Regions from separate parts of the Homo sapiens genome. Here all the other regions are linked to region 1. Evidence: promoter capture Hi-C in 16 types of primary human blood cells and fetal thymus (Javierre and others, 2016). All regions are on one chromosome and are shown on one strand. The core of a region is centred on a gene start or on the middle of the fragment in contact, and the rest is flanking DNA. Distances in the headings are between cores, read along the strand shown. Region 1 holds the start of RNF145 (ring finger protein 145). Region 2 overlaps CYFIP2 (cytoplasmic FMR1 interacting protein 2). Region 3 overlaps CLINT1 (clathrin interactor 1). Region 4 overlaps CLINT1 (clathrin interactor 1). Region 5 overlaps FAM200C (family with sequence similarity 200 member C).

Region 1 (5,151 bases), core at 1,685-4,184:
TTGGATAAAGAAAACCTCAAAGTGCCCAGAAAACATTAGGAACAAGAAAGTGTGTGAAGAAATGAAGACATGAAAATTCTCCCTCATATTCCCAATGCTGGCTATCCAAGGTTCTTTGGATTTTGGCCCCAACATGTGAAATCCGTTATATCATTTTCTCTAGATTTAGAAGGCAGTGCATAATAAAGTGGCCATCAGTTCCTGCGGATTTGCAACACAAGACTATTTCTATGTGACTATTAGCAATAGTTGGCTCTATCAGGAATTCAGGAACGAGTCTTTTGGAATGGCTAGAACTGGAACATATATGCACTCTTTCAAACTTTGTGCTGACTTCCTCCTCAATGTTGGATGCATTTAGACAGGAAGGAAGATAACCTTTCGAATCCTGAATGGTCTGCCATTGGGCAGTCATAAACATACCACTTCTTTCCTTCTAGCACCCTGGGTAAGTTCCTTTTATGACCAAGCTGTGGCATTTAGACATTTCCTTATGTTTCTTCCAGGTACTTAAGGACAAATTTAGCTCCTGGCTTTTCCTGATTTGGGTGGGTTTGGGTGCCTCTAGAAAGTACTTCCTCTACACTTGATTGAGCTCTTTTATTTGAGCTGCTCTCGATTCACCCGCCCCACCCCCACTTCTTTTTTCTTTTGCGTTGCTTTTTAGTTCTGTTTAATTACCTGCTTCTGGCAATGTGGAGCTTTCCCATAACTGGATTAGCAGCACTATAATAGCAGTAACCCTTTCATTACCAGAGTAATTTTCTTTACTTGTTTTGAACTTCAGCATTTACAGGCAGCTGCTATTAAGTTAAAAGGTAAAAAGACATGTGACTTTTTCCTGCTTTTACAAGTCCAGAATACTTCCAGTGAGGGTTACAGGGCTTTGAAGCCATTTTCTCCACTTTAAAAAAAGGAAAGGTAAGAGCTGAAGTAGGCCTCTCCTCCATTTAAAACACAAATCCAGTTAGAGACCAGCCTGACCAACATGAAGAAACCCCATCTCTACTAAAAATACAAAATTAGCCAGGTGTGGTGGTGCATGCCTGTAATCCCAGCTACTTGGGAGGCTGAGGCAGGAGAATTGCTCGAACCCAGGAGGCGGAGGTTGCGATGAGCCAAGATCACGCCACTGCACTCCAGCCTGGGCAACAAGAGTGGACTCCGTCTCAAAAAACAAACAAACAAACAAACAAAAACCACGCAAATCCAGCAACCATACTTCCTTTTAGAATCACATTTTCAGGATTCTGCCATTTATCCAAGAATAATAAATAAATAAAGTTAGAATTTAGTGTTACGTTCATTTTGACTTCTTTGTAATCTGTTTCTGGCCTTAGGTTTTCTTGACTCAGTCAGATGTAAAGTTGTTAAAACAGGGAGGGGATCAAGATAAGGCCTTGCTATCTTGGTCCATTTCCTATTCCAGTCATTATTCATGTGACCTCTGTAATTTTTTTACTTACCAGGCTAGATTAAGAGACTCATGAACTGCATCACTGGGATGTGACAGGATTTATGACTATGGTGAAGTAGTCTGAGGCACCTGGATGAAAGGTGGTTATAGTGAGTTATGTACACAATTCCCACACATTTTAAACACTTGATTCCTACAGAGCTATCAAACTAATGGAAGGCAAGTTACTCAGAGTTTGGTTGACTGATACCTCCAGGGATTGCATTTTCTAAATACAGAGCTTGCTTTCACAATTTCAGCAGGATACAAGAGTGTTCAGAATTGGGGGTTTACCATTCAAAGGGCAGAGGCCAGAGACTTGAATTTACAAGGAGGGTCCTCAACACAGACATCGAGATTACAGTACATTAATTTCTCTTGCACATGAAGAAGTTGAGGCTTCACAATTTCAGCATGACCCAGTATAGTTGCAACATCTTACCCATCACTGGGTGTGTATCTTCTGTGTACACTGGCCCTTTCAACATCTAAGGCCAGGCTAGGTGCTCATAGCAACTGGCTCCCCAGGAACTAACGAAAGAGAAAGCAAGAAACAGTGGAGGGGTTTTGGTGATGGTGGAAGGCAGGGGAGATAGAAGTGGGGGTTGCAGAAGGTCGTGGTGAGGCAGAGTGGCAGACAAATGGGGAATGAGAAGTCTTGCCAAGCCCAGAAGACTATCGTTGTGTAAACACACAATATGCTTCAGGCTATGTATTCTGGGCAACAGTTCCTGCCCTAAAAGGTGTGGACATTTAAATTAGGGTAGGATTGCGCATTCTGTGATAGAGACTGGCACAGAGACAAAGTGGAACTCCTCTACGTTGGGGAGGGGAAAACATACATTAGCCTGTTTTGAACCTTAGACCAAGACAAGACAAACACACAAACACCATTTAATTTCATACTGCAATAAAATTCTTTGTACCAAACCATGGGATCAAAATTGTTACAGATACTCAGTGAACAGTTCCAATGCATTCATTCATCCAGTCACTTACTCCACAGGGGTTTGAGTGCCTGCACTTGGTGCTGGGCACGGCTGAGCCATCCCAGACGCCAAGGAGTTTACAGTCTAGTCCAGTCAGTGACGAGGTTAAAACGAATTCTCGCATCATTGCTACTGCGAATGCACCGGGACAGGATCAGCCCTTCAAATTCTCCCACGTGGTCCCTGCAGGTGAGTGTGGGTGTGAGCGCTTGCGGCCCGTGGTGTTTGGGAGTGAGAGAGCACGTGTGTCAGAATGGCGCCTGTCACAGTGCGCGTCCAGGTGTCTCTGCAGTACGCCTCTCCATAGCCACCCGAGCCGGGCTGTATGGGCTTGGCTAGGCTTATGTCTCCCGCCCACGCACCGGAGGCGGTGCGGAAAGCACTCCGCGGGCGCGATTGTGAGTGAGCGCGGGCGCGCGCGGGAGGGGCGCGCCGCGCTGGCTGGGCCGCGCGCAGGCGCAGAGTGCGGAAGTCGGGCCGCGGCCGCCGCAGAGCGCCGGGGGCGGGAGGAGCAAACGCAGGAGGCCATGGCCGCCGACGCCGGCGCCGGCTGCTAAGGGGCTCGGCCCGCGAGCGCCTGCTGCCGCGGACGATGGTGACCGTACGGGCCGGGCCGCTGCCGCTGCCGCTGCCTCCGCCTCCCCAGAAGCAACATCCGAGGCTCGGCGCAGAAGAGCCGCCGCTGTGAGCCGTGCCGTACCGGCCCCCGCCGCCGCCCGAGGAGAACGGGAGGGCGGGCGAGAGAGCCGGGGAGTTGCGGAGCCCGCCCGCCGGCAGCGCCGCTCCCCAGGGAGGGAGTCCGCAGCCTGAGGTGACCACGCCGCCCGCCCGGCCCCTTCCCATCCCCGCGCCCCCCGGCCGCTTCCCACGGCCTCCCTCCCCTCCCCCATCGCGTCGCAGGCTCCTTCCTCTTCTCCCTGTTCGCCCCTTTCCTTTTATCTCGCTTCACCTCCCTCTTCTCCCTAGCATTGGAGGAGTCCACATCCCCTCTTCAGCCGCAGCACCCCTCCCTCCCATCCTCTAGCTCTTCCCGCGGTGGTCGCCTCCCTCCGACCCTGCTCTCCCCTCCTGGGCCCCGCGCAAAGCCCCCTCTGTTCCAGCTCCCGGGCCTCGGCTGCCTCCCCGCCCTCCCATCCCTTCCTCTTCCCAGGGCCTGGAGCGCTCCCTTACATTCCTGAGATGCCCTTCCTCGGGGCTGTCCCCCTTTGCCTCCCCAGCATCCCATTTCTAGGCCTTTTTCAAGACCCTTCCAGAGCGGCCCCTTTCCAGCTCCCTTTCTCGTTTCCATTTCCAACTTTGCCTCTTTTGCCTCTTTGTTCACTTTGCTTCCAAGCTCCCCTCCCTCTTTCCCTTCGTCTTACCCTGCTTTGATCTACGCAGCCCCAAACTCAAGCTCCCCGCTTTCAGGTGGTGCGAGGTTGTTTGGGGGTGCGGAAGGGCCTGCCAGTCCATTTTTCGAGGGGGGCCCATTGCTCTGCATCCCGTCCGTCAGTCCCTTTTATAGTAAGAGGGCTCCTCATCCCTTCCTTTTTGTCCCCGTGGTTTCCTCTGTCTTGCCATCCCTTCTGTCTTCTCCCTCCAATACTGCTTTCCCCACCCAAGGACCCTCAGACCCGTGAACCCCCTTTCTGGAATGAGTTCCCTTTCTGTTCGGGGATGCTGAACTTCGCCCGCGTTTTTCTTCGCGAGCCTTTTGGTACGTGGCGTGGCGCGACAGAGTCAGCACCCTTGGCGAGATAGGAGGGGAGCTCTCGAGCCTCTTTCCTGGAAGAGTTTTTGCTGAACGTAATCTCTTAGCCCCGCGGCGGCGGCGGCCCGGTTGCTGCTGCTACTGCTGCTGCGCTGCCTGCTTGCCGCGAGCTGGGTTGGGGTTACTGTAGTTCAAACGCATCTGAGATCTGCAGGCGTTGTGGGAGGAGGTGCGGGGAGAGAGGAAGGGGCCTGTGCAGTGAGCAGGCATCAAAGATTAGTGGATGGCCTTGCGTCGCAGTCTGCAGTAAAGAGGAAACTAGTCTGAAAGGGAAGGAGAGGACTGTGTGTCTTTTTATTTTTTAAAATACGGAGTGTGCAGTTTTACTGAATCTTGAATCATGCCCAAAAGAATGAGCTGTCGGTGCTGCAGTCGTGACCCAGGCTGAGCGGCCGATGGCAGAGGTAGCAGTTTTATTTCCTCTCTCTGTTCCTTAAGTTGAAAGATGGCCTTTGTATTCAGAGTAGACTCCCTGTCTTTGCGGTTTGGGAGATGATGAGAAACCACAGAATTGCTAGTAGTTTATGTGGAGATCAGGTACATACAAAGTTAGCTAGCAAGGAGTGGGAGTGGGGAGGACCAGCTATATTTAAAACATGTGCCATTGCTTATGTAAGAAATGCGTTCTCTTTCCTGGTATCTCAGTTCTGGGCTTTTACTTAGAATTTTAGGCTCTAGCTTTGTGCTCTTAACATTTTCAGTGAGGCCTACCATCCTAACCGATGGACAGCCCGAAAATTTACTTTTCTTAAGATCAGTTTTAGTTGATGGTAGAATTTTTTTTTTTAACTGGTTGGGAGAAAGAAAGGAGATAATGGTGAATGATGATTTTTGTTTTTCTTTTTTAGGGGGAAGGTGTAGAAGTATTGTACTGAATAGTTTTAAGTTGGGTCACGTGTCATTCTTGTTTTTTCTTTGTCTTTTTAAAAAAAAGTTTAGGAGGTGTATTTTTGAAG
Region 2 (4,171 bases), core at 1,391-3,890, 1.9 Mb after region 1:
TTGCGGGTAACTTGTGCTAATAATAGCTTAAGCACTGAGGTTTGCAAACAAGGTACATTTTATTGTATGTGAGGCGAGGGTTCAAGATCTCTGTGTGATATTATTGCTTGCATGTTCATCTCTTCCCTTGAGTGGCAGGAATGGAGCAGAGTTGGGGGGTTGGCTGTGGGGGCTGATGTGTTCAGCATGTCAACATTGTCCATTTTGTGTACTAAAAAAACCACAACAGCAACCAGTTAAGAATCACTGGATTTGGGCCTCTCTCAGGACCCTCCCAACACTAAAGCAAATGACCATGACTACAGTTGAGACATTCCATCCAAAGGGCTTCCTTAAAGACATGTGTTAAGGATCATGCAGACCATTCTCTGTGGCCAAGGTATACAGGGCATAATAAACCTGTCCAAGGATACTCTTCCTTTGTGCCTTTGCTCAAACTGTCTCCACTCCCTTATGGACTGTCTTCTTCCCTTCTCAAATCTTACCGATCTATCATGGCCCACACGAAGACATGCCTTTTCCACAAAGGTCTGACCAGCCAAGCCCCTTAATGACCTTTATTTCTCTCACTCCCTTAGCACTCACAGTCTAGAGTCCACAGTTTTTAACTGCACGACAAACTGCTTTATATTTCACTAATTCTTTGGATTGCTAAGAATGCCAAGGATAGTCATCTTATCTGAGTTTGACCCATAGCAACCAGCACAGAGATAGGCACACACCAGGAATTACTTGCTTAATTAATACTTCATGAATGATTTGTTGACTGCATGAGCCAATGACCAAAATTCTTAACTTCTGGTTTAAAAAAATTAACAAGAAAGTTAAAATATCATGCTTCTCTAAGGTCCCATATCCAAGGCTGCCTTGTCAATATAAGAATCTGAGGAGAGTTCTTTAGAAAATCCTTCTGTCGTATAGTTTCCACTTCAAACCCTAAGAAGCAGGTCCTCATTTCTCTTTCCCATATGGAAGTATAACAGACTTGGAGATAGGGGGCTGACCTCTAGTTCTGAATTCTTATCTTGCCATTCATATCTTGCCAAAACAAATCTTAAAGCATCATATTTTAAAAGCACAAATCAAAAATAGTTCTCGGATATTCCTTAAGAGTTACTGCATGTCTTCTCTGAGGGTCAGCCCTGCAAATTCTCTTTGATCTCAGCCAGGCCTTCAGTGAAGTTAGACAATTCTCTCATTCTTCCCCAGTTTATTTCTTATTCCACCCACATAGGCAACTGTTCCAAACCCTGAAGTCTCCTGAAGTTTCCTAACCAGTCCATCACCTTTATTTCCTGCAGAGGACCTCACCTCCTGCCTTACTTAGAAAACAGAGAACATGGACAGACTAAACACACCTCTGTTTTACCTAGAGATTAAAGCCTAAGAACCATTGCTCTACAATGACCAAATAATGACGCAAACAGAATCAAAAGGTCTACTGATGAAGTCATCACTGGGTCTTTCTCAGGCATCTCGCAAGAAGGTCCTATTTACTTCCCTCTCTCACTGCCTGTATCTGAGTTGCCCAAAGTCTATCAAAATGCCACGCAACCAGAATGATCCCTGCAAGAAATTCTGCCTGAACTCAAGCTCTGCCTTCTCAAAACAATTTCTTTCAAGAATTTGCACCCTCTGTTGCCAGGGCCCAAGTATGGCTTAAATGGCTATTTTTTGAGGTACATCACACACAGCCCTTAGCATAATGCCCATGGCTAGAAAGCCAATATCTAAGCTCTTTGCATCCTGGGAGGCGTCCCATACCCACTGACTGAATTCTGAAGTGTCTTTGTACAGACAAGGCCATCCAGGGGCCTTGACAGAATCTGTGAATCACAAAGTGCCTTTAAGCTTCCCATTGGCTCAACAGTACAGAGAGGCCACAGATCCATCTTCTTAAAGTGACACACAATATATAATTAATAAATTGTTTCTTAAGGAATGGAGGGCATTTACCCAAAAGAGTCACACATTCAGGAGGCTCCTTCTCTATTTCCACGGCTTTTTTTTCTCAGACTGGGATTTACAGACATTACCTCATCCGCAGGCTTTCATGATGACAGGCAGGTAACAGTTGGGCAGGCTGCCTTCCATTGCTCAATTTTGAACGTCAGAGAGGTAGTGGCTGGTTTAAGGGCACACAGCAAGTCAGGGATCCTGTGTCCCATGCTCACTGTGCTGCTCTGTCTGCCCTGGAAGCAAAGCATGCCCTCAACATTTTTGGATGGTTGCAAAATGCTGAATTCTCACAGAGGAAGAGGCCCTTCCTTAACTCTACGTGTTGAAATGTGAGAATGGCCCTGGGCTTCTGCTTGGCTTGTTCCCTCCCACTTCTCCCTACCTACTCAGGTTCCACCCACCTCTCTTGTGCTACTTAAGAGCACTTCCCACCTGAAGCCTTTCACTTCATGCCCTATCACTCTTAACTTTCCCTTCCTTCGGCCGGTAAACTTGGGGCTGGGTTTACTGGTCACAGAGACCAACTTCCCTCAAAAAAGCAAAATTCAGGAAAGCTCTGGAGGGAGAGGGGCTGGTAATAGCCAAGGGTTGATTACATACATAAGCCAAATTCTTAATGATTATGTAATTAATACATTATAACAATAAATACATAAATATGCTAGTACTTACTATGTGCTAAGCATTCTGCTCGGCACTTTCATGCACCCCTTGGGTAGTAAGAGCATCCAAAGATATTCTAGTTCCTCCCCTGCCTCCATTCACTGCCAAGAAGGCAGCAGCCTGCCCCCCTTCTCCCACCATCTCACTACTGATGCAGGGGCCATCCCCTGGACCCTAGGCATGGCTTTGCTCCTCAGAATGACAGGACCAAAAGCCTTTCATAAAGACTCCAGTGAGGTGACTGATGTCTGGCTTTGTCAATTACAAGTGAATAATTAATACTTGCCAGTAAAGAAATAGACTCATTGTTACGGTGGCCACATGGAGGCTACAAAAGGCCATTTTGTGACGCTTTTGGTGGACCCCTGGGGCCAACAGTGGTCCAAAGAAGCTGCGTTGAGAGTGTAGTCCAATCTTTAAACGTAGGGACTGGGACCCGTACTGTTTTCCAGGAGCGCTTTTCCCGTTAATTAGCTTGTAGCCGATTCATCATCTCATTCAGCTTTCTGGTTGATGACAGCAGCAGAGGCCACTGAACATCAGAGAGGGCATGATTTATCAGAGGGGTCATGTAGTGTTCTACCAGGGCCTTTTACCGGTTTTTGAATTCATGTCTACTTCCTTCTCTGGGCCAGCATCTGATTTGAGTAAAACTCTCCAACCCCACTGGGTTGTACATCCGACTCTTGGCCTAATGCCTAAAGCAAGTTTTTCCTTTTTCATTTTCCAGCAGGGACTGAACAAGGCAGCCTTGGGTGCCTACAGAACCGGTCAGAACTGGCCAGGAAATATAATAAAGAAGCTTAGTGAGCAGAGAGCTAATGCCCCCAGCCAGAGGCTCAGTGCGCACAACTAGCTAGAGGCACTGACTTTGTAAGCAACAACACTATCTTCTTGAGGTCTAATAATTGCCTTGGCAAAGGGCAGCCAATGCCAACGAGGAACCCTGTGTACACAAGTTTCTCATCCCGAAAGTGGACACTGGGTGCTCAAAAAATGCCTTCTGGTGACAGTAACACCTGACCAGTCAAACAAACATGCACGCATGCACATGCATGCATACACACTCTTACAGCATTCCTGCCTGCAGGGCCAAAGCTGCCCTTGCCAAATACAGAGCTGACAGCTGCTAGATATTGTCATTTCAGGGACCCGTTCCCAAAAGAACTACCCAGCTCCCCACCTCCACTTCCAGCCCACTGTTTGAAATTCTACCATTAGTGATAGCAAATATTTCTACAGTGTTTCCCATTAAAGCTTTGTTTCCCATTAAAATGCCTCCATCCTCTGTTTCTTTTCCGGTCAAATGACTTGTAAAGCACCTGCTCTGCATCAAATGGGAACTTCTTTTGTATTTAGCTCTTCAAGATAAACACAATCATTGGCTCCTTTCTTGAAAACCATTTCTGACACTGGAGACTGGGGGAAGGGCAGGGCACTGTATGGAAGTGGAGGTGGGAGGCCACCAGGAGGGCCACAGAGAGAGGGTCTAATGGTGGAGAAAGCAACCATCAAGGCCTTCACAGGCCTGCCCAAAGATATGGACCTG
Region 3 (5,151 bases), core at 781-3,280, 1.4 Mb after region 1:
CCCATTTTAAAATAATCCCGTCTTATTATTTTGCTTCATTTTTAATATCTTTTAGCGACAGCGATGAGGAAAAGAAAGCGAGAAGAGGCAGATCTCCCAAAGGTGAATTCAAAGATGAAGAGGAGACTGTGACGACAAAGCATATTCATATCACACAGGCCACAGAGACCACCACAACCAGACACAAGCGCACAGCAAATCCTTCCAAAACCATTGATCTTGGAGCAGCAGCACATTACACAGGGGACAAAGCAAGTCCAGATCAGAATGCTTCAACCCACACACCTCAGTCTTCAGTTAAGGTGGGAATGGCAGTAGTTTACACATTATACATGGTTTTATTTTTATAAACCGCTCTTCGAATTCCTGCATTAGTAGGCTTGGGCATTTCTAGGCAATCATATTAATTATGGATCATCTGGCATGTATTACCAAGAGACATTAATAATAAGAAATCTCTTTGAGGGGAGAAACCTGTCCAATTGCTGAATGATTGGGTACTTTCTATGAAAGTAGAAATGACACTTTTGGTTTGTTTGGGGAAGGTTGTGAATCAGAATGTAGTGCCTCTGTCCCCATCTAGACAATACTGGTTACCAACCACAAGTAGATTCACTAAAGAAAACATTGGAAGTATTTGAAAGTTTTAAGAAATGACAAACGAGGGAGTAAGAAGAGATATATAGGGGCAAGTTATCTCATGTAATGTAGAAACGTTGCCTATAAAGGGAGGCGTGTTTGCCTCACAGTCATTACTGATCAGTATCAAAAGAAGCACTGCCTCTTGTACCATCTTCGTTTGTTTTTATTTACCATAGAGATGAAATCCACCTGCTAGGTACCTGGCCAAACCCTAGTCTTTTCAACAGAAATCTGCCAAATAGGGAGATTTGCCTCAAAAGACTAAATTATTGTTTTTGTCACTTTCCCCGACTACTGTTTCCCCAGTTTGTGTCTTTGCAAGAGAAATAGCTAAAAGCTGGGAAAAACAGTTTTCTAATGTATGCAGCAGATTGTAGGTGACTCTGAAAATAAAACCAGGCCTGCTTAGTTGCAATAACAAATACCATGTCAGCTTTTGCCAAATATCTGTATAATTTTTTTAATAATAGAGACTTTTATCACATATCTTAAAGGATTTTAAATAACAGTTTGTAGTATAGCCTGAATATATGACACTCTGCAATAAATATTTTATATTTGTAGTACAAGCTTTTTCTTTTTCTTTTTCTTTTTTTGGAAGACCGAGTTTCGCTCTTGTTGCCCAGGCTAGAGTGCAATGGCGCGATCTTGGCTCACCGCAACCTCTGCTTCCCAGGTTCAAGTGATTCTCCTGCCTCAGCCTCCCGAGTAGCTGAGATTACAGGCATGCACCACCATGCCCGGCTAATTTTTTTGTATTTTTAGTAGAGACGGGCTTTCTCCATGTTGGTCAGGCTAGTCTCGAACTCCCGACCTCAAGTGATCCACCTGCTTCGGCCTCCCAAAGTGTTGGGATTACAGGCTTGAGCCACCGCGCCCGGCAGTACAAGCTTTTTCTTTTTTGTTTTCATTTACCCTCCTCCCCTCAAAAAAAATGTCTAGAAGGTTGAAGTTCTTAGAAAGTTACCCAACTCATTTGGATCTGTTCTTAAAGGTGTTTTGGAATCACAGTATATAGTATTTTAGTTTTCAAAGTTCAAATCAACATGCCTAGGATCTTAGGGTTTCCCCATTGCCTAATAATTGAGTTCTAATTTAGCATGTATATATCTAACATATAGGACATAGGTATTTAGGTATCAGGGTGCTTAGCTTTGTGGAGAAGATAAAAATAGTATTACAGGTATAGGCCTCAGTTTAGTTGGGGAACTAAATATGAAACATATCAATATATCAAATAACATAGAATTATACTAACTTGTGTGATATACAAACAATAAGTTTTGCTAAGGTTCATAGAAATTTAGAGCTGTTTAGGATCTTGACCTCTAATCCAGTGGATCTCAAGCCTTGGAATTATCTAGGGAGCTTTCTTGTAAGACTTTAACAGGCCAAGGTCTTGGCCTTTTTATACCTGGGCAATTATGACTCAGTGTATTGTATGGGACTGGTACATATGCTAGGGTATTTTTTTTTTTTTTTTTTTTTAATGAACTGATACTTAGCATTAAGATTCAAGTGGGATCTGGCAGTTAATATTTTCCAGAGTGAAATGCAGTCAGAAAAGTGAGGTAGGAAAAAAAGTGTCAATGTTAAGAGACTTTTACACTGCTGGGAATGGAGGTACTTAAAAGTGCTTGCTGCCTCTCCATAAGGATTCAAGGTCAGTACTCTTTTTCCAGAAAACCCTACCCTTATTAAGCTAATTACAGGTATTTATGTCTAAATTGAGAATTAGAGATGGATAGAGCTGATTTTTAGAAAAACAAACTTTTCGAAGCTCCTGAGTTATGTGTGTGTTTTCAGACTTCAGTGCCTAGCAGCAAGTCATCTGGTGACCTTGTTGATCTGTTTGATGGCACCAGCCAGTCAACAGGTAAGCTTCTACATTGGCCTTTTCTTTTGGTTTGAGAGTCATTTTTTAAAATGCCAAATAAAAGATAGATTGAAAAATAAGATTACTTATTTGCATTGGGTTCATTTTTTATATGAAATTAGTGAGTCTTGAGCATTATTTGGAATCATTGTGTTATTTTTGCTTATCTTTTTATATGTACACCCATTTCTCTATCCCTATTTTATACCTTTTTCTGACCCACCCTCAGACTAGCAAAACTTTGTTTGTGGTCAGTACTTATTGGTGGTTAATAATAGTATCCTCAAATCATTATCATACTTAGATTTTAATGACTCCTCATACCTGATGTACTGTGTCTTCCCTAATTAATAATAAATAGTATTTCAAGGCATCATGTACTTTCTGAAATTTTTCATCATAGATTTTGGAATCTATAGTTTCCATTTTTAATTTTTAAGATTAACTTGGAGAAACAAAAAATTGCATTTAAACTGTTGCCTTTACTTTCTTTATAAGCAAAAGGTACTGCTCTGCGCATTTTACTGTCTTTCCCTAAATTTTAATTGCAGCTGTCACCTTGGGCATGCCTAGAGATCATTTAACTTTTTATTCTTTTAATTGAACAAATATTTGTTGAACCAGACACTGATCTGGGTGCTTGTAAAAAACAGAGTTGTTGTCCTCATGCGAAGGTCAAGTGGAGAAAATAATCATTAATCAGAGTCACAAATAGTTATCTAGTGATAAACAATGGCAAGTGCTTCAGTCAGAGGAATGACATTCTCTGAAAGTATGTAACTACCAAACATATTTAAAGAGGGCGGCTGGGCGTGGTGGCTGACCCCTGTAATCCCAGCACTTTGGGAGGCCGAGGGAGGTGGATCACCTGAGATCAGGAGTTCGAGACCAGCCTGGCCAACATGGTGATACCCTGTCTCTACTGAAAATACAAAAATTAGCCGGGTATGGTGGCAGGTACCTGTAATCCCAGCTACTCGGGAGGCTGAGGCAGGAGAATCACTTGAACCCGGGAGGCGGAGGTTGCAGTGAACGGAGATTGCGCCATTGCACTCCAGCCTGGGCAACAACAGTGAAAAACTCCATCTCGGAAAAAAAAAAAAAAAAGAGAGGGCTACAGCAAAAGAACTGTTTACCTTGAATTTCTCATAGATGAGATTGATGATTTCTTCAGTTTGATTTCCAGTATGTGCTAGATTTTGAGTAATTTCTGATCAATTGTTTTCAAGAAAATTGATATTTTTAGGGTTGTATTTGATGATTATGGAGTTTTAATAAACTATTGTGTGACGTGTCAAAATAGTTTAACAAATACATCTTCTGTTTAAAGACAGTCTTTCCAAGCCTAAGTTCATTTCACATTAAAATGTAGACAGTAAGATGGGGGTATGACTAATGTGCAAAGTAAATTTATTATTCCCAGTTGTGTGTAATGATTTTTCAAAGCCGAATTGTGGCTGTGCACAGTGGCTCACACCTGTAATCCCAGCACTTTGGGAGGCCGAGGCAGGCGGATCACCTGAGGTCAGGAGTTCAAGACCAGCATGGCCAACATGGTGAAACCCTGTCTCTACTAAAACTACAAAAATTAGTTTGGCGTGGTGATGGGCACCTTTAATCCCCGCTACTCAGGAGACTAAGGCAGGAGAATCGCTTGAACCCAGGAGGTGGAGTTTGCAATGAGCTGAGATCATGCCACTACACTCCAGCTGGAGTGACAGAGCAAGACTCTTGTCTCAAAAAAAAAAAAACTTTAACTTAACCTTTAAGTGTAAGTCTATGCTGGAAATTACTTTTCACTGATAGTTTAGTATAATTAATGTAATATAAAGCCCCCTATTATTTCCTCCTCCTTACCTACTATGTTAAAATTCTTGGATTAGGCATGAACTTTATTCAAGCAATTCTCTTGCCTAAGCTTCTCGAGTAGCTGGGATTACAGTCACCTGCCACCATGCCTGGCTAATTTTTGTATATTTAGTAGAGACGGAGTTTCACTGTGTTGGCCAGGCTGGTCTCGAACTCCTGACCTCAGGTGATCTGCCTGCCTCAGCCTCCCGAAGTGCTGGGATTACAGGTGTGAGCCACTGCACCCAGCCCAGACATCTGGTTTGACCTACTTTCTTTCTCTATTTTTTTTTTTGAGACAGAGTTTCGCCCTTGTTGCCCAGGCTGGAGTGCAGTACACAGTCTTGACTCACTGCAACCTCTGCCTCCCGGGTTCAAGCGATTCTCCTGCCTCAGTCTCCTGAGTAGCTGGAATTTCAGGCATGCGCCACCACGCCCGGCTGATTTTTGTATTTTTAGTAGAGACAGGGTTTCTCCATGTTGGCCAGCTTGGTCTCAAACTCCTGACCTCAGGTGATCCACCTGTTTTGGCCTCCCAAAGTGCTGGGATTACAGGCGTGAGCCACCATGCCTGGCCAGCCTACTTTCTGAAATTCTTCAATTCCCTTTCCCGTTTTTCTGTAACTGCAAACTGTTCCTAAAATTATTCATTAAACTTGATTGGACTGTAATGCCCAAGGTTACGGACAGCTACATTAGTTGTGTAACAATTTATGTGATATATTTTTATATGTTTAAGATTTGAACTGTAGAATTAACTGGTAGTTAGCATGTAGTCATATAAT
Region 4 (5,151 bases), core at 1,596-4,095, 1.4 Mb after region 1:
CCCACCAACTAGGAGCACTAGCTTAATCATTGTCATCCTATGACCTATCTTTACTTGTGGCTGTAATAAAATTGGACATGTTTATATTTTGTCATCCTATACATGGTAAAATTGAAAGTTGCTGCAGTTCTATTTTCTCTCTAGATTTGAGGAATGTAATGAAGGTGACATGGTAGTGGTAGATCAAAACTGCTACTTATTTGTTCAAGCTCAGCGAATCCTTCTCTTTCCTTGCAAGGAGTAATATTAGTGGTAAATCTCTTTCATCAGTGACCCGCCCCCCCCCCCGCCTTTTTTTTTTTTCGGAGACAGTTCACTTTATCCCCCAGGCTGAAGTGCAATGGCGTGATTTCAGCCCACTGCAATCTCTACCTCCCGGGTTCAAATGATTCTCCTGCCTCAGCCTCCCGAGTAGCTGGGATTACAGGCGTCTACCTCCATGCCTGGCTAATTTTTGTATTTTTCATACAGCTGAGGTTTTGCTGTGTTGGCCAGGCTGGTCTCAAACTTGTGACCTCAGGTGATCCACCCACCTCGGCCTCCCAAAGTGCTGGGATTACAGGCATGAGCCACCTTGCCCAGCCTCAGTGGCCCTTTTTTTGATAGTGATTCAAACAGCTCTGGCTAAGGTCCTAAGGCAACAGCTATGGGTAGTCCATTTTAAGTTATTCTCCTAAGCATAGCTTGCATTTTCCCTCATAAGTTGATTTTTATTGATGTATATTTGCTTGGTTTTAGTTCCTAAATGTTTAGATAATGTAATAGAGCTGTAGAAACTGCTGTTCTAGTCTCCTGACTCCAGAGGGAGAAACTTTTGCTTTTATAAAGAATAGTATATTCATTTATTTTAACAGGCAATACATTTGTTATTTATTGGATTAGTAGTCTGGTTTCTTTTTATTTTTTATTTTTGAGACAGGGTCACACTCAGTTGTCCAGGCTGGAGCACAGTGATGCAAACATGCACACTGCAGCTGGGACCACAGCTGCGCCTCCATGCGTGGCTAATTTTAAAAAATTTTTTTGTGGAGAAGGGTTCTTGCTATGTTGCCCAGGCTAGTCTTGAACTCCTGGGCTCAGGCAGTCTGCCTGCCTCAGCATCCTGAAGCGCAGGGATTACAGGCGGGAGCCATTGCGCCTGGTCTAGTACTCTATTTTCTGAACTCGAAACATACAATACCTGCCTTCAAGAACCTTGCCACTACAAATATGCTACAACTTGAATGGATTATTTTTCTTTTCTTTTCTTTCAGTCTTCAGATATCATCCCCTTTATTTTCTTTATCTTACCAGTAAATCTCTGTTCAGTTTGCTTCTTGGAATTTGAAAGCAGAGATAGTAAGATAGTTGTCAGCTTTCTAGTCTTCCCATGTCAACTTTTCTTTGAACCGATTATAAGTAATTGTTATTGCTGAAACAATGAATTAATTATTCTCCTCCTTTTCTAGTAACTGGACACAAGTAGATATTAGGAATTTAATTCCAAAGAAAGATGAGTTTGGTTTATCTCTGCTAGCATTTCTTAGGGGTAATTTTCTGTAGTTTAATCTATTTAGTACTACTGTCAGGGTGCTTTTAAAAAGCACTTAACTGCCTCTTATGTTTTCTTGCACACTTTAGTATTAGTTTACAAGCAGTTTTTCTTTTTTTTTTTTTTTTTTTTTTTTTGAGATGGTGTCTCGCTCTCGTTGCCCAGGCTGGAGTGCAATGGTGCGATATTGGCTCACTGCAACCTCTGCCTCCTGGGTTCAAGCAATTCTCTTGCTTCAGCCTCCTGAGTAGCTGGGATTACAGGCACGTGCCACCATGCCCGGCTAATTTTTGTAATTTTAGTAGAGACGAGATTTCGTCATGTTGGCCAGGCTGGTCTTGAACTCTTGACCTCAGGTGATCCACCTGCCTCAGACTCCCAAAGTGCTGGGATTACAGGCGTGAGCCTCCGTGCCCGGCCTACAAAGCAGTTTTTCATCTGTTTACTGATATGTCCATTGAAAGTACTTAGCCTTTTTTATTTTGAGTGCCATTTGCTAGTAATCCAAGGTTTCACAATATGGCTCTACAGTTGAGTCTTTTTCTGGACTTTTTTTTTTTTCTTTCTTTCTTGAGATGGAGTCTTGCTCTGTCTCCCAGGCTGGAGTGCCATGGTGTGATCTCAACTCACTGCGACTGGCCTCTGCCTCCCAGGTTCCAGCGAGTCTCCTGCCTTAGCCACCCAAGTAGCTGGGATTACAGGCATGTGCCACCATGCCCAGCTAATTTTTGTAGAGACGGGGTTTCATCACTTTGGCCAGGCTGGTCTCGAACTCCTGACTTCATGTGATCTGCCTGCCTTAGCCTCCCAAAGGGCTGGGATTACAGGCATGAGCCATTGCCTCTGGCCTTTTGTATGCTTATATTATTTTCCTACTTGTTTCCAATGTTTGTTTTAATGAAGATCACTTCACAGATTCAAAGTACATTTTTAGTACTTTTGAAGGTTCTTATATACAGTTAACTTTTTAGTCTCAGCTACCTTTGGTGACAACATATTTTACTGTTTACTCTTCTGTGTTTTTCAGGTTAACGCTTCATGTGAGCTTTCCTTGTTTAGCTTAATTATGTGTGTTTGTCCATCTATGTATTTTTATAATAATTTGCTAGCCAAATATACTTTGCCACTATACTTAGGTGCCTCCAGATGGTGTTTAATAAATGTGGGAATAGCTAGTGGTTCAGAGGTGAGAACTGGATTGAAATCTTAGGTCTGCTACTAGAAACGGTGATCTTATGTGTTAGAATGGTATCTTTATTTCTCTGTAAAATAGAGATGATATTTTATAGGATTATGAGGATTAAATGTGAAACAGTATAGTACTTGACATACAGTAAACTCTTGAAACATCTATTACTGTTATTACTGTTACACACAAAACAGTATAACACTAGAAAAATCAAAGGAATACAGTGTTTGTGAAAATAGAGATATCATTGTCAGACTAGGTTATTTGTAAGTATGTAGGAACTATATCTTCATCCATGAAATCATTATTTTCAGTGAGTACTCTCTCTTAAGACTCAGTTTAGCCTACATATAGGACAGCTAATTTAAATACCTCTGTTGTTTATGCCTTGTATTATTTTTGCTAAATCATAAATGGCTTCTACTTTAATATTGCAAAGCATATTGCAGAAATACCCTTTCAAAAGACATGTTGAGGAATAAAGTCTTTGGAAAGACATATCGCGAATTCCATCTGCCAATTCTTAATATTTTGTTCAGCTTGTTTTGTGTATTCTCAAGATTTTAAAGTAACTGCTAATGTAAAACATTACTAAAACATAAAAAGATTTATTTCATAAATGCAAATTGAAGCAGACAATTTATTCTTAAGAGACTGAACAATATCAAGAAAAAGAATCCTCTAAAATATGTGATACCAAATTCATGGTGTTTGACAATGGACAAACAGTATATACAAGGAAAGCACATTGGAGAAAGGGCTTTCTGGTTATTCAACCCCTCAAATTGGCAAGAAATTATTTGGCTTACCAGGGCTCTTTTGCCTGAAAATTAAATACAGGTAAAGGAACGTAATATATTCCTATGTTTGAGCCAATTTATAGCTACTTATTACTTGTGGATAGATTTAGCTAACGAATTATTAAATGTGAGTGATTTTGTTAATGTGCAACAGTGCACATGAATGGTTTGTACTTCATTTAAGAAGAGTCTAGTTAGCCAATTTTAGAATATTTCATTTCTTTTTTTTTTTTTTTTTTGAGACGGGGTCTTGCTCTGTCACTCAGGCTGGAGTGTAATGGTGCCATCTCTGCTTCAGCCTCCTAGGTTTAAGCGATCCTCCCAAGTAGCTTAAGCGATCCTCCCAAGTAGCTGGGACGACAGACACATGTCACAACACCCAGCTAATTTTTGTATTTTGGTAGAAATGGAGTTTTGCCGCATTTCCCAGGCTGGTCTCGAACTCCTGAGCTCAAGCAATCTACCCACCGTGGCCTCCCAAAATGCTGGAATTGCAGGTGTGAGCCACTGTGCCTGGCCTAGAATATTTGTTTTGACATGAATTTTATTTAGCTTCTCAATTCTTAGGACAGTATTTAAGTTCTAGATAACTTTAATATAAATAATCTTTTATAATTTTGCACACACTCATCATTATGTGGTAAACGTACATGCGTGCTTTTTCAACAACTATTGAATGAAATGTTTCATTCAAGAATTCTCATTCAAATAGCTTATATTTTTATAGTAGAAAAAAGGCATGCATTGAAAATTCAATTTTCGGGTTTTTTGTTTGTTTGTTTGTTTGCCATTTGTTTTCATGCATTTTTAGTAAATCATTAAAGAACAGTGCAAGGCCAGGTGCCGTGGCTCACAACTGTAATCCCAACACTTTGGGAGGCCGAGAAGGGAAGATCTCTTGAGCCCAGTAGTCCAAGACTAGCCTGGGCAACACAGACCTTGTCTCTACAAAAAAATTAAAAAATTAGCCGGACATGGTGATGCATGCCTATAGTCCCAGCTACATGGGAGGCTGAAATGGGAGGATCACTTGAACCCAGGAGTTGAAAGCTGCAGTGAGCTGTGATTGTGCCACTGCACTCTAGCCTGGGCAACAGAGTGAAACTTTGTCTCTAAAAAAATTTTTTTTAATATTAAAAAAAAGAACAATGCTAATAGGCATACTGAGCCTTTTTCTATTAATTTTTCTCATACTAATTTTTCATTTATCACTTTTTAAAGTGACTTAGGTTATACGGTTGAAACTACATGTCTTAATTTGTAGTTAAACCCCCATGGTTAAATAATTTTTTTTTTTTTTTTTTTTTTTTTTTGAGACAGGGTCTCACTTGTACCCAGGCTGGAGCGCAGTGGCATGCACGATCTTGACTCACTGCAGCCTTGACCTCCTGGGCTCAATCCATCCTCCCACCTTAGTCCCCCAAGTAAGAGGGACTACAGGTGCTTACCACCATGCCCGGCTAATTTTTTGTAGAGATAGGGTTTCATCATGCTCCCCAGGCTGGGCTCAAACTCTTGAGCTCAGGCAATCCGCCCGCCTCAAGCCTCCCAAAGTGCTAGGATTATAGGCGTGAGCCACTGTGCCCAGCCAGTAATATCCTTAGTTTGATGTATTTGGCTTATAAGTTCGG
Region 5 (5,151 bases), core at 1,421-3,920, 1.2 Mb before region 1:
CAGGACTGCCTGAACAACATTATTTCATATTCTTTTGTTCTGCTTCTGGAGAAGATATGTATTAGTTCTAAGGTAGTGCAGGGACGTGTATATTTTGAAAGGGTTTCCCAGTGATTGTGATGATATGGTGTCTCTTGTCACAGATCACTGTTCTAGTTACTATTTATAAGAATTATCTAAAATACTTACAATACAGATTCTAGGCCCCCACTCCATAGCTGGAGAATCAGAATCTCTATGGGTAGGGCCTTCTACATCCTGTCTTTGGGTTAAACCAAACCTTAGGAATGCTGCTTATTTTGTGTATGTGCATGTGTGTGTTCTTGACTGCTTTCCCTTAGAGGTATTTAGGTGGAAAAGCATCATGAAATTCGTTATTTTACTTAAGAGTGTTCTCCTATGAGAGGGATTTTTCTGAAGTCTCGGTAACAAGAATAGTTGTGTTTCCCCTGAGCAAGTTGTTTTGCTTTTTTTTTTTTTTTTTTTTTTCCACAGAGACTTGCTCTGTCGCCCAGGCTGGAGTGCAGTGGCATGATCTTGGCTTAGTAGCTGGGACTACAGGCGTATGCCACCATGCCCAGCTAATTTTTTGTATTTTTAGTAGAGATGGGGTTTCACCATATTGCCCAGGCTGGTCTCGAACTCCTGAGCTCAGGCAGTCCACCCACCTCAGCCTCCTAAAGTGCTGGGATTACAGGCATGAGCTACCACGCCCGACCATTTTGCTTTTTTATATGGACACTATGAATCATGGACTGATAGTGTGTTACACTTAGCAGCAAGGAAGCTCTGAGCCAATTTGTAGCCTACCTTTGCATCAGGGGTGGCTTAATCAGACTTAAAGACCTATTTGAAATTCTCTGCCTAAGTTGGAGTCAAAACTGCTCAAGGTTCAAATAGTATTACAGACCTGTTTAGTCTTTAACTATTAAAAAGAACTACCATGTTCTCACTCATAAATGGTAGCTAAATAATGTGTACACATGGACGTGGATAATGGAGTGATGGGTAAAGGAGACTTGGAAGGGTGGGGTGGAAGAGTGGGGTGGGAGGGAGTAGATGAGAAATAATGAGTACAATGTATGTTATTTGGGTGACGGATACCCTAAAAACCCTCACTTTGCCACTATGTGGTCTATGCATATAACAAAATTGTGCTTGTACCCCATAAATGTATACAATTATTTTAACCTCCATGTCAGAATCCACCCTTCCTTATTTAGTGAATTGCTCCTTTATTCAGTGATTCTTAACTGAGGGTATGCATACATCTTTGGGGCTGAGTGGAAGAAGGTGGTGGTAGTGAGATGCCCTTTCTAGGGATACAAAATGTGCTAGATTTGTTTGTAACATACATTATTGAAAACAAGTTAAGCCATAACTATAATTCACCAATAAAGGACTTACAGGTGTTCATAACTTGTCTAAGCTCAAATCTCCCATATATAACTTGCTGGCAAATCATTTATTCCAGGGCATTAGCTATGAGTTGCTAGCTTTAAGTTGAACTATATCCTGTCATGGCTTACTTCGAATTGACATGCTGCAGGCTGTATCTTGACATATACAAGATAGCATGTGATGTGGCTTTGTTTTAATTCAGTTAGCCACTGGTTTTTAATGTGTGGGTTATATTTTACTCCCAAAGCAAAATTCTGTGGCATCTCTGGAATACTACCTGAGAATTTTTGTGTGCCATGTCGAAGAAACGCAAATGGGATGATGACTATGTTCGCTACTGGTTCACCTGTACAACGGAAGTAGATGGAACTCAGCGTCCACAGTGTGTGTTGTGTAACTCAGTATTTTCAAATGCTGACCTCAGACCATCAAAACTGTCAGACCATTTTAACAGACAGCATGGTGGTGTAGCTGGGCATGATCTCAATAGCCTGAAGCATATGCCAGCACCATCTGATCAGAGTGAAACCTTGAAAGCATTTGGAGTTGCATCTCATGAGGATACTTTATTACAAGCATCGTATCAATTTGCGTATTTATGTGCCAAGGAGAAGAATCCTCATACAGTAGCTGAAAAGTTAGTGAAACCTTGTGCACTGGAAATAGCACAAATAGTTTTGGGACCAGATGCACAAAAAAAGCTTCAGCAGGTACCCTTATCAGATGATGTGATCCATTCTAGAATTGATGAAATGAGCCAGGATATCTTACAGCAAGTTCTAGAAGATATCAAAGCCAGTCCTCTTAAAGTGGGTATTCAGCTTGCTGAGACAACTGACATGGATGACTGCAGTCAGCTAATGGCATTTGTGCGCTATATAAAAGAAAGAGAGATCGTAGAAGAATTTCTCTTCTGTGAACCATTGCAGCTATCCATGAAAGGAATAGATGTGTTCAATCTCTTCAGAGACTTCTTTCTGAAGCATAAGATAGCACTTGATGTATGTGGCTCTGTTTGTACTGATGGTGCCTCCTCTATGCTAGGAGAAAATTCCGAGTTTGTTGCCTACGTGAAAAAAGAGATACCTCATATCGTAGTTACACATTGTTTATTGAATCCTCATGCACTTGTCATAAAGACATTGCCTACAAAACTGAGGGATGCTCTGTTTACTGTGGTGAGGGTAATAAATTTCATCAAAGGGAGAGCTCCAAATCATCGCCTATTTCAGGCTTTCTTTGAAGAAATTGGCATAGAATATAGTGTCCTCCTTTTCCATACTGAAATGAGGTGGCTTTCCCGAGGCCAAATACTTACTCACATTTTTGAAATGTATGAAGAAATAAATCAGTTTCTTCACCACAAGAGCAGTAATTTAGTTGATGGCTTTGAAAATAAAGAGTTTAAAATTCACCTAGCATACCTTGCAGATTTATTCAAACACTTAAATGAACTCAGTGCATCTATGCAGAGGACTGGGATGAACACAGTATCAGCTAGAGAGAAGTTATCTGCTTTTGTTAGGAAGTTTCCATTTTGGCAAAAACGAATTGAGAAAAGAAATTTTACCAATTTTCCTTTTCTTGAAGAAATAATTGTTTCAGATAATGAAGGCATATTCATTGCAGCTGAAATAACACTGCATCTGCAACAATTGAGCAACTTCTTCCATGGATATTTTTCCATTGGAGATCTTAATGAGGCAAGTAAATGGATATTGGATCCATTTCTTTTTAATATCGATTTTGTTGATGATAGTTATTTAATGAAAAATGATCTTGCTGAATTACGAGCTAGTGGCCAAATCCTAATGGAATTTGAGACAATGAAGCTTGAGGATTTCTGGTGTGCCCAATTCACAGCATTTCCAAACCTGGCAAAGACAGCTCTAGAAATCCTTATGCCATTTGCAACTACATACCTTTGTGAGTTGGGATTTTCATCACTTTTACATTTCAAAACAAAGTCCAGAAGCTGCTTTAATCTGAGTGATGATATCCGTGTGGCTATTTCAAAAAAAGTTCCTCGTTTCTCGGACATCATTGAACAAAAGCTACAGCTACAGCAGAAGTCACTGTAAGCTGATATACTTTTTTAATGAATAATTTCAATCTTAATATCATTGTAAAATTAAGCTGTAATTCTGTCTCTTTCATATTTATGATATACTGAATTCTATGTCTAAAAAACTTAAGAACTTTAATTTTGAATGAGGCATGTGAAAATATGTTTTGAGAATAAAAACACAGCAGAAAAGATTAAGTACTACTGCCTAGTTGCTATCATGAGATTTTCCCAATTCTAAGTATCTGTTTAACCTGTTCGTGTGGTATATGAAAAAGATACCTAAGCACTAGAATATCCAGCTAAATGGTGCAATAGGCTAGGAATTGAGCCAGGAGAAAAGAGAAGATATCCCAGAAGTCAAAAAGGCAAAATGAAAGATTGAGTTCGCCCGTCTTTGTTATGGAGAGGTTAATGAAATCAGAAGAGGATTATGAAATATAATGGGAAAAGGAATGATCTGGCTTATGTAAGACTTACTTTTAAATATACTCTTTGGAGTTAGTCTCACAATGTCCATTCCCCTAGCTCCTGTGCTATGAATATCATATTAATAAATAGCCTAATATATTAATCACTGTTTGTCATCTTTAAATTACTTCAGAACTCCAAGTTATCAAGGCTGCTGAAAAGGAGATTCCTGAGCCTTACCCTAGAGATTGTGATTAGTAGGCCTGTGATAAGGTCAAGGATCCTCATTCATAACCAGCTTTCCAGACTGTTCTGATGGATTCTTGGATTCTTGGGTCCTCTGGGTTCAATTTTTCCTATACTTATTTTTCCTTTACCCTAATTTTGTCACTTATATTACATCTTATATGTATTTTTCTAAGTTCAAAATGTCAGAGTATAAATCATAAATAAATTGACATGAAATCAATGGAGTAATTCAAGACCATCAAAAAATTCCCCATGGGAATCTAACTTAGCACACTTTTTCTGGATGATAATTTGGCAAAATATTTTTTAATTTAAATAAATTTTCATTTCTATTTTTAAACATTAATATTTTATCAAAGTACTACATGCTCAAGGCTGGGAAAAAATGATATAGAGAGTCCTATAAGGAAAAGCCACAATCCCCTTCCTGCCCAATTACCCATTTCTTCTGTAATTTCTTGTGGTTCCACCCACATCTCTTAAGTAGTATGTTCATACCATGACATATAGCAGTTGAATCAGCTTTAAAAGTTATATATTGACTCCCCTAGATAATATGTAAGGATTGAATTTATAAAATATCCATCTCCTACTACTCTCAATTTTTTATTATTATTACACTAATGTTAGTCTCTTTGTTGGTTATTTATAGCCCTTTGATTAAGAATTTTTCCTCTATAAATTTATCATGTGGAAAGAATCAGGAATGTCCAAAAGTTTTACTTATAAGGTGGCTAATCAGAACACTTTTATAATACTGAAAAATAAAAAATAAACCTGAAGGGAAATGGAACCTGACTACCAAATTTAGATGCCACATTAGTACGCAAATCAAAGTTTATATTTTATCAGTAAGTATAAATACACACCTTTTTTCACTGAAAAATGTAGTAACAGAATATAGGTCCTAATTTTCCTATTACAATCTAACATCAAAGACAGAAAAATTTCCAAAGCTAATATGGAAATCTAGATGTGTAGGCCAGGTGCGGTGGCTCATGCCTGTAATCCCAGCACTTTGGGAG

The links. Contacts are between HindIII fragments. The CHiCAGO score rates a contact against its expected background, and 5 or more counts as called.
Region 2: a fragment that was not itself captured here is called in contact with the fragment with the promoter of RNF145 in region 1 in 1 of 17 cell types (total B cells); the score reaches 5.0 in total B cells.
Region 3: a contact is called between a fragment that was not itself captured here and the fragment with the promoter of RNF145 in region 1, in 1 of 17 cell types (total B cells). The highest score is 6.2, in total B cells.
Region 4: a contact is called between a fragment that was not itself captured here and the fragment with the promoter of RNF145 in region 1, in 1 of 17 cell types (total CD4 T cells). The highest score is 5.4, in total CD4 T cells.
Region 5: a contact is called between a fragment that was not itself captured here and the fragment with the promoter of RNF145 in region 1, in 4 of 17 cell types (erythroblasts, total CD8 T cells, naive CD8 T cells and 1 more). The highest score is 5.5, in erythroblasts.

Annotation. Positions count from the first base shown.
Region 1 is chr5:159,207,336-159,212,486 of GRCh38, reverse strand. It overlaps RNF145 (ring finger protein 145), which reads left to right and starts at 2,934. Exons shown (of 11, transcript NM_001199383.2): 1 at 2,934-3,256. It overlaps LOC107986468 (a long non-coding RNA gene), which reads right to left and starts at 4,460. Exons shown (of 2, transcript XR_001742943.2): 1 at 3,807-4,460; 2 at 2,335-2,628. RefSeq lists enhancers at 2,462-2,561, 4,149-4,268, 4,379-4,428, 4,519-4,568, 4,168-4,823 and silencers at 2,732-3,021, 3,062-3,251. The HindIII fragment of the contact is 10,196 bases long and covers 1-5,151 here.
Region 2 is chr5:157,267,449-157,271,619 of GRCh38, reverse strand. All of the region lies in intron 1 of CYFIP2 (cytoplasmic FMR1 interacting protein 2), which reads right to left. Among named protein-coding and RNA genes, the nearest start is that of CYFIP2, 3.4 kb to the right of the region's middle. The HindIII fragment of the contact is 1,573 bases long and covers 1,854-3,426 here.
Region 3 is chr5:157,801,017-157,806,167 of GRCh38, reverse strand. CLINT1 (clathrin interactor 1) reads left to right here. Exons shown (of 12, transcript NM_014666.4): 7 at 56-302; 8 at 2,449-2,518. Among named protein-coding and RNA genes, the nearest start is that of CLINT1, 56 kb to the left of the region's middle. The HindIII fragment of the contact is 991 bases long and covers 1,535-2,525 here.
Region 4 is chr5:157,850,295-157,855,445 of GRCh38, reverse strand. All of the region lies in intron 1 of CLINT1 (clathrin interactor 1), which reads left to right. Among named protein-coding and RNA genes, the nearest start is that of CLINT1, 6.3 kb to the left of the region's middle. The HindIII fragment of the contact is 9,777 bases long and covers 1-5,151 here.
Region 5 is chr5:160,392,037-160,397,187 of GRCh38, reverse strand. It overlaps FAM200C (family with sequence similarity 200 member C), which reads left to right. Exons shown (of 2, transcript NM_022090.5): 2 at 1,649-4,040. The coding sequence starts at 1,698. The coding sequence ends at 3,482. Among named protein-coding and RNA genes, the nearest start is that of FAM200C, 5.4 kb to the left of the region's middle. The HindIII fragment of the contact is 1,131 bases long and covers 2,105-3,235 here.